Regions from separate parts of the Homo sapiens genome. Here all the other regions are linked to region 2. Evidence: promoter capture Hi-C in 16 types of primary human blood cells and fetal thymus (Javierre and others, 2016). All regions are on one chromosome and are shown on one strand. The core of a region is centred on a gene start or on the middle of the fragment in contact, and the rest is flanking DNA. Distances in the headings are between cores, read along the strand shown.

Region 1 (3,185 bases), core at 535-3,034, 280 kb after region 2:
GGCTTCTTTCACTCAACAATATACATTTAAGTTTCCTCCATGTCTTTCAGGGCTTAATAGCTCATTTTAAAAATTGCTGAATAATAGTGCATTGTATGAATGTAACACAGCTTAGTTATCCATTCATCTACTGATGGACATTTTGCTTGCTTCCAGATTTTGACAATTATGAATAAAGCTGCTATAAACATTTGTGTATACGTTTTCATGTGGACATACATTTTCAAGTCAATTGTGTAAATAACCTAGGAGCACGTTTGCTGAGCATAATGTTTTTGAGGTTCATTCATGTTGCATTCCTTTTTAATTCCCGAATAGTATTCCTTGTATGGATATCTCACATTTTGTTTATACATCCACTAGTTGATGGTCATTTGGGTTGTTCCACTTTTTGGCTATAATGAATAGAGCTGCTATGAACATTTATGTGCAAGTCTTTGTGCAGAGGTATGTTTTCACTGGGTAGATACCTAGGAGTGGAACTGCTGGGATATATGATAAATTTATGTTTAACTTCTTAAGAAACTGTCAGATTGTTTTCCAAAGTAGCCGTACCATTCTACATTCCCACCAGCAATGTATGAGGGTTCCTATTTCTCAACATCCTTGCCAACACTTATTGTCTATCTTTTTGATTACAGCTATTCTAGTGGATGAGTAATGGTATCTCATGGTAGTTTTCATTTGTGATTTCCTACTGATTAATGATACTGAGCATCTTCTCATTTGCCTATTAGGCCATTTATAAATTTTCTTTTTTTGAGATAGGGTCTCACTTTGTCACCCAGGCTGTAGTGTAGTGGCACGAACATGGCTTACTGCAGCCTCAACCTCCCGGGCTCAAGTGATCCTCCTGCCTTAGCCCCTCAAGTAGCTGGGACTACAGGAATGTGCCACCACACCCAGCTAAGTTTTGTATTTTTTGTAGAGATGGGGTTTCACCACGTTGCCCAAGCTGGTCTTGAACTCCTGAGCTCAAGTAATCCATCTGCCTCAGCCTCCCAAAGTGCCGGAATATACAGGCCAGGCTTCAGTGAGCAGCTGCACCTGGCCCATATATTTTCTTTGACAAAGTATTTATTAAAATATTTTGCCCATTTTTAAATTGGGTTGTCTGTCTATTATTCAATTGTAACAGTATATTCTGGATACAAGACTTTTATCATATATGAAATTTGCAAACATTTTTTCCTAGTCTGTAGCTTGTCTTTTAATTTTCAAAGATTGTCTTTTGAAGGGCAAGTTTTAAATTTTGATGAAGTTCAATTTATCAAATGTTTGTTTTATGGACCATGCTTTTGTTGTTATATGTATTAAATCTTTGCCTAACCAGCGTCTCAAAAATCTCCTATGTTTGTTTTTCTAAAAGTTTTTTTAGTTTTACCTCTTACATTTAGGTCTCTTTTCCATTTTGAGTTAATTTTTGTTTATGGTATTGAGGTAATGGTCTAATTTCATCATTTTGCATCTGCATATCCAATTGTCCCAGCATCATTTGCTGAAACTCATCATACATTTCATAGGCTTTAAAAGAACTGTTTTTTCCAACTTTTTATTTTGAAAAATTTCAAACTTATGGAAGAGTTGAAAGAATAGTATGACAAGCAATCATATACCTTTTTGCCTAGATTCACCAATTGTCATAATTTTCCACATTTCTGTCTCTCTCTCACACACACTTTTTGCTGAGCCATTTGAAAGTAAGCTACAAATATGATGACATTTCACTCCTAAACACTTCATCATGCATCTCCTAAGAAAAAGACTTCTACATTATCATGCCTAAGAAAATCAACATCAATTCAAGAATATCATCTAATATAGTCTGTAAATTTCCCAAATCATTCCAAAAATGTCTTTAATAATTGTTTAAGATTTCTCTCCAATTCAGAATCCATTCAAGGTTGACACATTGTATTTGAGTTCATTGTTTTCTAAAATCCAGAACAATTCCTCCACCTTCTTTTGTTTTTCATGATAATGGCTTTCTGAAGAGTCCAGGCTAGTTCACTTGTTGGATATCCCACACTCTAGGTTCATCTAATTGTTTCTTCATAAACATTTCTGGCAAGAATATTTCATAAATGATGCTTTGTACTTCATCTGAGATCACATCAGAAAGCACGATGTCAGCTTGTCCTGCTACTGACAATGCTGAGTTTAATAACTTGTTTAACCTGGTGACTGCCAGATTTTCCTATTGTAAATGTGCATTTTCCTCTTTGTAATTAGCAAGGAATCTGTGGGGTGATAATTTGAAACTGTGTGAATATCCTGTTCTCAAGGACCTTTCTGCTCAAAGGTTTTAGCATCCATCTGATGATCTTTGCCAAAATCAATTATTGTACTGGGGGGCTGCAAAACAGTGATTTTTTTTTTAGTCTACCTTCTACATTTATTAGCTGCTGTTCTGCTCTAAAGTAGGTCTTTCTCCCTTTTTCCCCCTCTCTCTCGCTGTCTTTGGAGTAGCACTATAGACTATGCTATAATCCATTTCCTTCAATCTTTTCATAATTTCTTTAAAAATTATATATTTCTTAGGTTGGTCTACAGAAAAGGCAAGCAATGCATGCCAGTGGCAATGAGCATACCCAGTACCTAGATTTTGGTACTGAAATGCCATTCCCTACTAAAAGGAACCAGGATTTCTGAGAGAAACGGCTGATTCCAGGGCTGGAGCAGGGATAGTTCAGAAAACCAGGGAAACCTTGTTCACCAGAAATTAAAGGTGCTGAAAAACTGATGGGGTCATGTCACAAACACATAGGAGCCAGCTCAAAGGCCAAATTTGGGATAATTTGAGCACTAAAAACAAGTGCTTTTAAAATTACCCATATTTACTATAATTCTTCTTTTCTCTCTATCTGTCTCTGTCTCTCTCTCCCCTGCCTTTATTTCCTTATTGTTCATTTGCTCCTCAGCCTGTTCTTTTTACACCACTGTAAATATGGCAGTAATCTTTGATTGCCAAATCCAACAGACCCATTCTCGGTCCTCAACATACTCAACTTCATTGTTGCTAATAACCACTTGCGCTCTCATGCTGGGCTAGCTTCTCTTCTCATCCAATCAGAGACAAATAATCCATACCCAGGTTCATGGCTTGCCACGGCCTTCCCAGAACAAGCAGAAAAAGAACTTAAAATTATAGAAGAGGGAGACTCAGGTTCGAGAAGGATTGAGGC
Region 2 (3,008 bases), core at 30-2,529:
GACAGAGCCAGACCCTGTCTCTAAAAATATATATAAAACAACAATAGTAAAATAATAAATTGGCTGGACATGGTGGCACCCACCTTAAGTCCCAGCTACTAGGGAGGCTGGGGCAGGAGGACTGCTTGAGCCCAGGAGTTCGAGGCTGCAGTGAACTATGATCAGGCCACTGAATTCCAGTCTGGGCGACACAGCAAGACCCTGTCTCAAAAAAAATTAAAGCAGTAAAATTCACAGAGACAGAATAATGGTTGCTAGGGGCTGAAGGGAGGGGGAAATGGGGAGTTTGTTTAATGGGAGTAGTTTCAGTTTTGCCACATGAGAAAAGTTCTGGAGATGACGGACGGCTGCACAACAATATGAATGTAGTCAACACTACTGAACTGTACATTTAAAAATGGTTAGGATGATAAACTTTATTTTTCATAAAACCCAGTTTCTGCACAAAAAGATAAAATTTATGTTATGTGTACTTTACCACAATTTAAGAAAAAATTTAAATTCTCATCCCAACATTACCACGCCCCCCACCCTTAGCCAACTGGTGAATGTTTACTCATTTTTCAACGCCTAGCTCAAATGTCTCCTCTTGCCACGCCATCCCTTAGCTGACCACCCTTGTAGTTGGCCATTCCCTCTTTTATGCCAACACTGTGCCCTGCACGTACATTATACCTCTTACAGCACTTATCAAACCTAGTAATTATTGCTTTACAGATCCGTTTCCACTACTAGATTACAAACAATTTGGGGGCGGGGACCTTGTTTTACTCATCTCTGTATCCCCTAGACTTAGGGCTTGATAAGCTGAAAAGAATCAAGAAGGGCTTGATTAATTAAGGCTCCTCTGGCTTTTAAGGAGACCATACTGGAGGGTCATTTGCCCAAAAGAAGAGGCATCGGGGTCTCCTCAGGTTTTAGAAATCTGGTCAAACATCCAGAGCTGACTCCCACACCCTACTGCGAGAAGAGCGCGAGCGCGCGTCTCAAAAGGCTCCGCCTCAACAGTTCGGGTCCCCAGGAGGATCCGGGGGCCACCCCACCTCCACCCTGGGCCAGGTCGGTTAGCTAGACCCGCCCAGCGGTCCAGACATACCTTAGGTAATGAGCAGCCTGCTCTGGGCTCAAGGCCTCGGCTTCCGGAAACCTTCGGGATGCCTCCATGACCCTCGGATTGGGTTCCAGTTACCCCGGCGGGAGTTTGGAGCTTGGAGCTTGGAGCTTGGAGCTTGGAGCTTAGAGTTTGGAGCTTGAATTTCGCTCACTCCCGCCCCGCGCATGCTCTGTGCGCCGTGGAGAGGGACACAGCCAACCGACGGCCTCGCGGCCGGCCAATCCGCGACCACGCGCTGCGACGCCTCCGCCTGAGCCCCGCCCATGACGGTGGGCGCCTGCGCCTACGCGCGCCGGGAAGCAGAAGGTGATCTCTGCCTTCGAGACACGGAGTGTGCTGCCTCAGTCTGTGATCCCTCGCGTTTCAATCCAATTCAAACCATGCTGCAGCCAATTCGTTCGCGCGTGCGTGTGCCATCATTGTGAGTGGAGGAGACTGCCCGATATGATCCCAGTCATTGCGGCGACCCCTGGAGATCTCCAACGCCTGCGTCCCCCAACCATACCCTGCCCCGCATCCACAGATATCTTCCCTTCCTTGATCGCCAGTACCTGGCACTGACCGTGCTTTGAATTCAAACACCCTGGGAGGCATAGTCCCTGTGATTTAAACTAACATTGAAGAAGCGACCAGACGCGGTGGTTCACGCCTGTAATCCCAGCACTTTGGGAGACCGGGGCGGGCGGATCACGTGAGGTCAGGAGTTCGAGACCAACCTGGCTAAAATGGTGACACCCCGTCTCTACTAAAAATACAAAAAATTAGCCGGGCGTGGTGGCGGGCGCCCGCAGTCCCAGCTACTCGGGTGGCTGAGGCACGAGAATCGCTTGGACCCAGGAGGTGGAGGTTGCAGTGAGCCGGGATTGCACCACTGCACTCCAGCCTGGGTGGCAAAGCGAGACTCCATCTCAAAAAAAAAAAAAAAAAAAAAAAAGGCTGGGTGCAGTGCCTCACGCCTGTTATCCTAGCCTTTTGGGAGGCTAAGGTGGGAGGATCACTTGCACTTAGGAGTTCGAGACCAGCCTGGGCAACATGGTGAGACTCCCGTCTCTTTAAAAAAAATTTTTTTCTTCTCCACAGGGCGTTATGCTGTATTTATTTTCTTAAAAAGAGAGAGAGAAAGAGAGAAGGGTCTTCAAGAATCTCAAACCCTGGAGGTGGAGGCTGCAGTGAGCCAAGATCATGCCACTGCACTCCAGCCTGGGTGACAGAGAAAGACTCCATCTCAAAAAAAAAAAAAAAATTAAAGTTCTTATTTAAGAAATAAGTAACTAGGTTCACATACTTGGTATAATAAAAGGAAGACAAAAATAATTTAAAAAAAAAGAAGTAGTGCTGTGGTCATCATTTCTTCAGAAGCACCAACTAAGATACAGTCATTTTCAAATGCAGAGCCTAAAAAGAAGGCAGAGCCTAGAGCTTAAGGAAATGTGATTGAGTTTAAGTGGCTTGCTTGGGTGACACTAAATAGGAGGTTGTGGGCCAACAAAAATTGTCCTTGTTCATATACTGTTAAGAACACAGACATGACTCCTCAAGACACTAATTTAGCATTCAGTATTGGAAAACTCACCTATTGGCCCAGTCATACATCATATGTCCAGAGAATTTTAAGCTTTTCATAAAATTTATAGACCGTTATGAGTTAAAAGGAATGTTGGAGGCCGGGTTCAGTGGCTCACTGAACCTGTAATCCCAGCACTTTGGGAGGCCGAGGCGGGCGGATCACCTGAGGTCAGGAGTTCAAGACCAGCCTGGCCAAATGGTGAAACCCCCGTCTCTACAAAAATTAGCTGGGCATGGTGGCGGGTGCCTGTAATCCCAGCTTCTCGGGAGGCTGGGGTGGAAGAATCGCTTGAACCCAGGAGGCAGACGTTGCAGTGAGCTGAGATCG
Region 3 (3,227 bases), core at 69-2,568, 480 kb after region 2:
CAGGAAACAGAATCTTCCAAATGGGTTTTTTAGGGACTTTGGTCTTTCTTCTACTTCTCCACTCTTGAGTTTTATAACCTCCTCTTCTTCTGACCTATTGCAGGCAAATGCTATCTTCCCACCTTCCCAAGCTTTACTGAGCTATATTCAACACATTAAAAATTGTGTATATTTAGGGAGTACAACATGATGATTTATGTATTCATTGGAAAATTACCAAAATGACGTTTATTAACACATCTATTACCTCACAGCTACCTTTTTTTTTGGTGTGGTGAGAATACTTAAGATCTACTCTCTTAGTAAATTTCAAGTATACAGTACAGTATGATTAACTACAGTCACCATGCTGCTGTACATCAGATCCCCAGAACTTACTCATCTTATAACTGAAACTTTGTGCCCTTTGCAAATACTATCTTGAATAAGGGGTAAGCGGTGGCTGAAGCCTTTCGAGTCTGAAATGTGGGTATTATTAAAGGCACAATTAAAGGTATTATTAAGTGCATTTATAATGGGTATTATTAAAAGAAAGTTTTACCTTTCTAGTTAGAATGAACTAGCGAACTAGCAATGAAAAACCAGCAGAAAAAATATATAATTAACAGGGGCGGGAGAACCTGCTACAGACAGATACAGATACACACACAAACACACACGCGGAGTTCATGCAAGGTCTCCGTCACACACACACACACACACACACACACACACCCACACACGCACGCACGCACGGAGTTCATCCAAGGTCTCCGTCCAAGCTATGACAAGCTACATCCTCGCTCGGTGATTACGAGAGACACCCCTGCAGTTACCTGATGGCACAGGATGGTCTGTTGCACCAGTCGAGCGTAGCCGTCCAGCCGGACCCCGGAGTTACTCCGGCTCCTCATGGCGACACGTTACTAATTGTCCTCTGAGAAATAGCCCGGGTGCCACCGGAGCCTTCGGTCCCTAAGGAACAAGTATCCAACGCTGCTCCACCCTCGTGGTGGGACGCCTGAACACCAGGCCCCGCAGAGCCCTCCCACCGCTCAGGCCTGGCGCCGCGGATTCCGCGTACCTCTCCGGACTCCGGCGGCCTCAGGGGCCCACCACGCGCCAGCGCTAGCACTGGCTTCCCGCGGTCTAGAGCCCCGCCGCAGCGCCCCAGGCGCCGCTCCTGCCCCCTTAGTCCAGTCCGGCCTCCGCGTGTGACTCCTGCATCCTCCCCTCAACCCCGGGAGACCGCCGCGGCCCACAGCCTCCCGCCCGGCCGCCGCCAACAGGTCAACGACCGCTGCGCCGCCTCCACCTTGCGGGAGACGCGAGCGGGAGGCGGGGCGGGCGCGACTGGTTCTGGCAGCTGCGCGCTGCGACCCCGGGGCTCGCCCGCCCCGGGGCCGAGAATGTGTCACCGTAGGCAATGTGCTTTCCGAGGTTTATTTTCGAAACACCTCAGATCACTATTTCAGTTTTCCACACTTGCTGTGCACACAGGATGTTGGGGAGGCTCTCCTTCGTTCTACAGGACTAGTTTTATAAAGGAACCTACAGTGAACTTCAAAACTGAAAGACACGCTTGTGTTCCAGGTCTGAAGACTTGGATTTCTGGGTCTTTATTGTATTTTAGATTTTGACTTTAAAAGCTCAGATTACACGCCTCACTTCCAGCCAGACCAACCAAACAGGAACTCCCTAGGGTACTTTACTCCTTAGTAACTGGCGAGTCTGCGGGCTTGGGAGGGAGGAGGCAGTGGTGCACTCTGAGGAAGCCAGTGCGGGGAACAGCTGGGAGCTGGCAGCCCCAGAAGGCGGCGTTGGCAGGACTCGAGCTGGAAGAGATCCTATAACTGCTTTGGATGGCTCCCTCGTGCGCACGTAGGTCACAAGGCTGAGGCAACAAATATTCAGCTGAAAATAAAGTGGAGAAGGAAGGCTGCGTAAGAAGCTTGGAGGCCGGGCGCGGTGGCTCACTCCTGTAATCCCAGCACTTTGGGAGGCTGAGGAGGGCAGATCACCTGAAGTCAAGAGTCCGAGACCAGCCTGGCCAACATGGCGGAACCCCATCTCTACTAAAAATACAAAATTAGCCCGGCATGGTGGCGCGCGCCTGTAATCCCAGCTACTCGGGAGGCTGAGGCGGGAAAATCGCTTGAACCCAGGAGGCAGAGGTTGCAGTGAGCCAAGATCGTGCCACTGCACTCTAGCCCAGGCGACAGAGTAAGACTCCGTCTCAAAAAAAATAAAATAAAAATAAAATAATAAAAGCAGCTTGTAGTGGCCGGGTGCGGTGGCTCACGCCTGTAATCCCAGCACTTTGGGAGCCTGAAGTGGGCGGATCACTTGAGGTCAGGAGTTCAAGACCAGCCTGGCCAACATGGAGGAAACCCCCCCCCCCGCTTCCCCCGCCGCCGATACAAATACAAAAATTAGCCGGGCGTGGTGGGGCGCTCCTGTAGTCCCAGCTACTCGGGAAGCTGAGGCAGGATAATCGCTTGAACCCTGGAAGTGGAGGTTGCAGTGAGCCAAGATCGCGTCACTGCACTCCAGCCTGGGAGACAAGAGCGAAACTCCGTTTCAAAAAAAGAAAAAAAAAAGGCAGCAGCTTGCAGATAACGCTGCTTACTGGCCTCGTGGAATCAGTCTGCAACCCTTGGGGCGGCCCGGCTTGGACCCCAGTGCCTTTGCTCCGTTCATCTCCGGCTCCTCCCTCCATCCCCCACCTGTTGCTCTCTGCTTATTCAAACCTTGCAAACCTTTCAAGGCTCTGCTTAAGTACCACCTATTCCCTGAATCGCGGGATAAGAAAATTAGACCGATTGACTTCAAGTTCTAAACCTTCCTTAGCCACCTCATCCAGGCCACGGTGACTTTGCATTTTCGTTTATCTTTTTATTTCTCTCCTCATAAGCTCCCTCCATTCCACCCCAAAACCTCCGCCCAATTTAGCATAGAGGCAGGCACCTAGGAGATGACTAGTAATTTGGTAATGATGATGAGGAAGGAGGGAATGTTTAAGAACTCAAATATGGGACTTTCAGGTTCAACAGCCAGTGATATAGTTAGATATCGTGACACACTTAGAGTTCTCAAGGAGATGCTTTCCATTGCAGTGATTCGCCACGCAAATGCAATGACTGGCAAATAACAAGCCACTTCAAAATCTAGGTGCACAGTGGAAGAAAAAGTCTCTCCATGGAAAGCAAGTGCATCTTGGACTTGCATCTTTTTTTATTTTTATTTTT
Region 4 (3,233 bases), core at 479-2,978, 340 kb after region 2:
GCTTTTCCCCAGAAGGGGAGGCAAACACATTACAAGGGCACCACCCTTCAGTGAATGAGCAGAGTCTTCTCTGCTCATTTCACTATCTGTCCAGTGACACTTCAACTGTCTTCAACTGACCCTTGTCACACCACCCCCTTAATGTCATTTTCCTTGGAGAGTGTCATTGTTGAGAATGTGATCGCTAGCGTCAGACTGCATGGGTTCAACTTCCAGCTCTATCACTTATTAGATGATTGATTTGGGGCAATTTACTTAAACCCTCAGTGCCTCAGGTAGCTTACTTGTAAGATGGCAGTATCTATCTTACATGGCAATTGTGAAGATAAAATGGCTCACGCTAAGTGCCTATATAACAATGGCATTTGGTATGTGCTCAAATATTGGTTATTTAAGAGCCATTATGCCAAATATTTCTATATTTGGTGGGGAAGGGAGTTTCCCCCTACTGTCATCCTTACCCCCATACCACTACTGCACAAGTACTACTAGTGGTTTGAGAATAAGTTCTTGGTTTTTTGGCTTAGCCTTAAAAGAAATCACACATCTGCTAAATATAGGGTGACCATATCTTTCAAACTGAGACATTTTTTGAGAGTGACACAGTGCTATTGATAATTATGCCAGTAAAACAGGCATAAATGGGGGCTGCCCTGGACAAACCAACACCTGAGGTTACTCAAGTTAAAAAGGAAATGAATGTCTACCAAATATAAGAATAAAAATTGATGGCTGTATTTTTTTAAAATTAAATAAATAAAAAGGAAATGAAGACTACATGTGGAAAATAATCTCCACTGCATTAGTGCAGACACTAGGTACTTGGTAAGTAGAAAAAGGAATGGCAGAGGTTTTGCCAGCTGTGGTGAAGAACAACTTTTGCCCCACCAGTTGTGTAAGATTCCCAGAATGTAGTAAAATTTCATTAACCAGGATGGAACTGTAGAGACAATGTTCATCCTTGCTGGATAAATCCTGTTATAGAAAAGGCTAATGAATAGTATAAACAAACAAGATTCTGCCAAATATTTTTAATATTTAGAAAAACAAGTTGTTTTAAAATACCCTTCATTAGGGAAGAAGCACCATTTGTACACAATTGAAAGGCTGAGTAAAAATGTTTTACTCATTCATCAGAAAATGTTCCCTACAGGCCAGGCGCGGTGGCTCACGAGTGTAATCCCAGCACTTTGGGAGGCTGAGGCAGGCGGATCACCTGAGATCAGGAGTTTGAGACCAGACTGGCCAACATGGTGAAACCCCGTCTCTACTAGAAATACAAAAAAAATTAGCTGGGTGTGGTGGCGCATGCCTGTAATCCCAGCTACTCGGGAGGCTGAGACAGGAGAATCGCTTGAATCCGGGAGGCAGCGGTTGCAGTGAGCCGAGATCACCCCACTGCACTCCAGCCTGGGCGATAGAGCAAGACTCCGTCTTAAAAAAAAAAAAAAAGAAAAGAAAAGAAAAGAAAAGAAAAGAAAAGAAAAGAAAAGAAAAGAAAAGAAAAGAAAAGAAAATGTTCCCTACAGATGTCAATAAGCCCGCTTGAATTTAGTAAGCCTTGTTTGAGTGGGTATGTATTTGAATGATTAAACTGCATTTCTTTACATATATTATCTAACATATTATGAAATGTATAATATATTATATATGTATTAATATATTAATATTATTCTACTTCAACCCAATGAATGAGCTTTGACTGTACTGTATAATTAAGCAGAGTATGTAGAATAAAGCCATGAAATAAACTCCAATCACAAAAACACATGTGAAGTTTTGCACATTGGCACCAGACATGATTTAATTGGAAATTCTTATTATTTATTCTATTTTCAAAACATAAGTGCTTTTTTAAAAAAAGTCTAACATGTCTTTTTAGTACCACACACTTAAAATGAACAAAAAACAAGTCGAGTTTTCTTAAAAGTTGCTTTAAAAGTTAAATACCACTGTATGGGGACCATAATGACACAATTTCGTAAACTCAGAGAAATGCAGCCCTTCGAGTAAGTTCAGGCAAATGAGTGTGGGAAGGAGTGGATCTTTTGCCTGTGGCACTACAGATATACTCCCTGAGATTGGGGTACACTTACAACCAGTGAAAAGACAAATAGTTTCAGAACAGGTTGTAAACTTTCTTTAAAAGTGACCAGAAAATAATGTAGTCAGAAAGCTACTTACTGTGTGTTTCCATTTGCTCTGAGAGAAGTGCTGAAAAGGTTTGCTGTCCTCTCTTTGTTTCTACTATCTGTATTCTATCACCCTACTATATGCTTACTTATTCATTATATTCATAAGATTGTCACTGGTTCTGCAAGAATTGTTCAGAGAGTCTCTCATCCCCACCCTCACCATTCCCAATATTGGGGAAAAACTTTAGAAATCCAAGATAAAGGAGGGGGTTGAAGTAGGAAGTTATCTAAGTGCAAAAAGGGAAGTTAACAGAGTCTCTGCACAATTCAGAAGAAGGAGAGTTAGAAGAAACATTTGTCAAGCAAGGCTACCTACATATGGGATGAAGGAAGAGGACTGAAGCTATTCTTCCACCAATCTGTGTGTGTCAATCTGAGTCCACAGTCACATCCCTTCTCTCACATGCAACATTCTTACTCAGTCCATCAAATGTAGATACAGATTGATATACAGACACATCAAAACTGCTTACATTCAGAAAAATTCCCATGTATGCTTATACACACACACACACACACACACACATACACACACAAATATGTGTCTTTATAAGAAACAGACATATGCCCACAGATACCATGATATACAGGGATATGTACACTAGAATTAGGAAGTGAAAATATATATGAAAGAGTTTAAGAATAGATGGGGGGATAGGGTGTCAGGGAGTTGAGTTGGATGTAGTAGAAAGTAGGTGAGTGAGACAGAGACCAGGAGCACATGAAAAGAATGCTAAGTAGAGCACCTATAGACTGGACTGCTGTATTTATCTTTGCTGAATACAGACGCTTCAAATTATTGTCTGTGTTGTGTATTGGCCCATTTTTCAAAGGCAGGGATTAAGCGCATAAGGCTGTCTTCAGGGAACTAAGCCACCTCTGATTCCCTCTCTGTTCCCTATGTATAAGACATTGTCCAGGCATCGTCTCTTCTTTCCCTTCCTCTCTGGAATTGGGCTCCGGGCTCCATTTCTGGGTTATTCTGCATTTTCTGCTGCAAATACAACTCTGAGTACCAACAATCTTTATAAAATGTGA

The links. Contacts are between HindIII fragments. The CHiCAGO score rates a contact against its expected background, and 5 or more counts as called.
Region 1: a fragment that was not itself captured here is called in contact with the fragment with the promoter of ERCC6L in region 2 in 1 of 17 cell types (M2 macrophages); the score reaches 5.1 in M2 macrophages.
Region 3: the fragment with the promoter of PHKA1 here is called in contact with the fragment with the promoter of ERCC6L in region 2 in 2 of 17 cell types (megakaryocytes and M0 macrophages); the score reaches 9.6 in megakaryocytes.
Region 4: a contact is called between a fragment that was not itself captured here and the fragment with the promoter of ERCC6L in region 2, in 4 of 17 cell types (megakaryocytes, monocytes, fetal thymus and 1 more). The highest score is 6.8, in megakaryocytes.

Annotation. Positions count from the first base shown.
Region 1 is chrX:72,518,847-72,522,031 of GRCh38, forward strand. The region is part of intron 4 of HDAC8 (histone deacetylase 8); the gene reads right to left. Among named protein-coding and RNA genes, the nearest start is that of HDAC8, 52 kb to the right of the region's middle. The HindIII fragment of the contact is 6,275 bases long and covers 1-3,185 here.
Region 2 is chrX:72,237,748-72,240,755 of GRCh38, forward strand. ERCC6L (ERCC excision repair 6 like, spindle assembly checkpoint helicase) reads right to left here and starts at 1,280. Exons shown (of 2, transcript NM_017669.4): 1 at 1,097-1,280. The coding sequence starts at 1,164. It also overlaps a transcript of PIN4 not described here. RefSeq lists an enhancer at 1,062-1,211. The HindIII fragment of the contact is 5,695 bases long and covers 1-2,727 here.
Region 3 is chrX:72,712,988-72,716,214 of GRCh38, forward strand. It overlaps PHKA1 (phosphorylase kinase regulatory subunit alpha 1), which reads right to left and starts at 1,319. Exons shown (of 32, transcript NM_002637.4): 1 at 816-1,319. The coding sequence starts at 893. RefSeq lists enhancers at 623-1,607, 1,608-2,596 and a silencer at 1,300-1,449. The HindIII fragment of the contact is 1,799 bases long and covers 130-1,928 here.
Region 4 is chrX:72,577,042-72,580,274 of GRCh38, forward strand. It overlaps PHKA1 (phosphorylase kinase regulatory subunit alpha 1), which reads right to left. Exons shown (of 32, transcript NM_002637.4): 32 at 1,773-3,233. Among named protein-coding and RNA genes, the nearest start is that of HDAC8, 5.8 kb to the left of the region's middle. The HindIII fragment of the contact is 3,710 bases long and covers 1-3,233 here.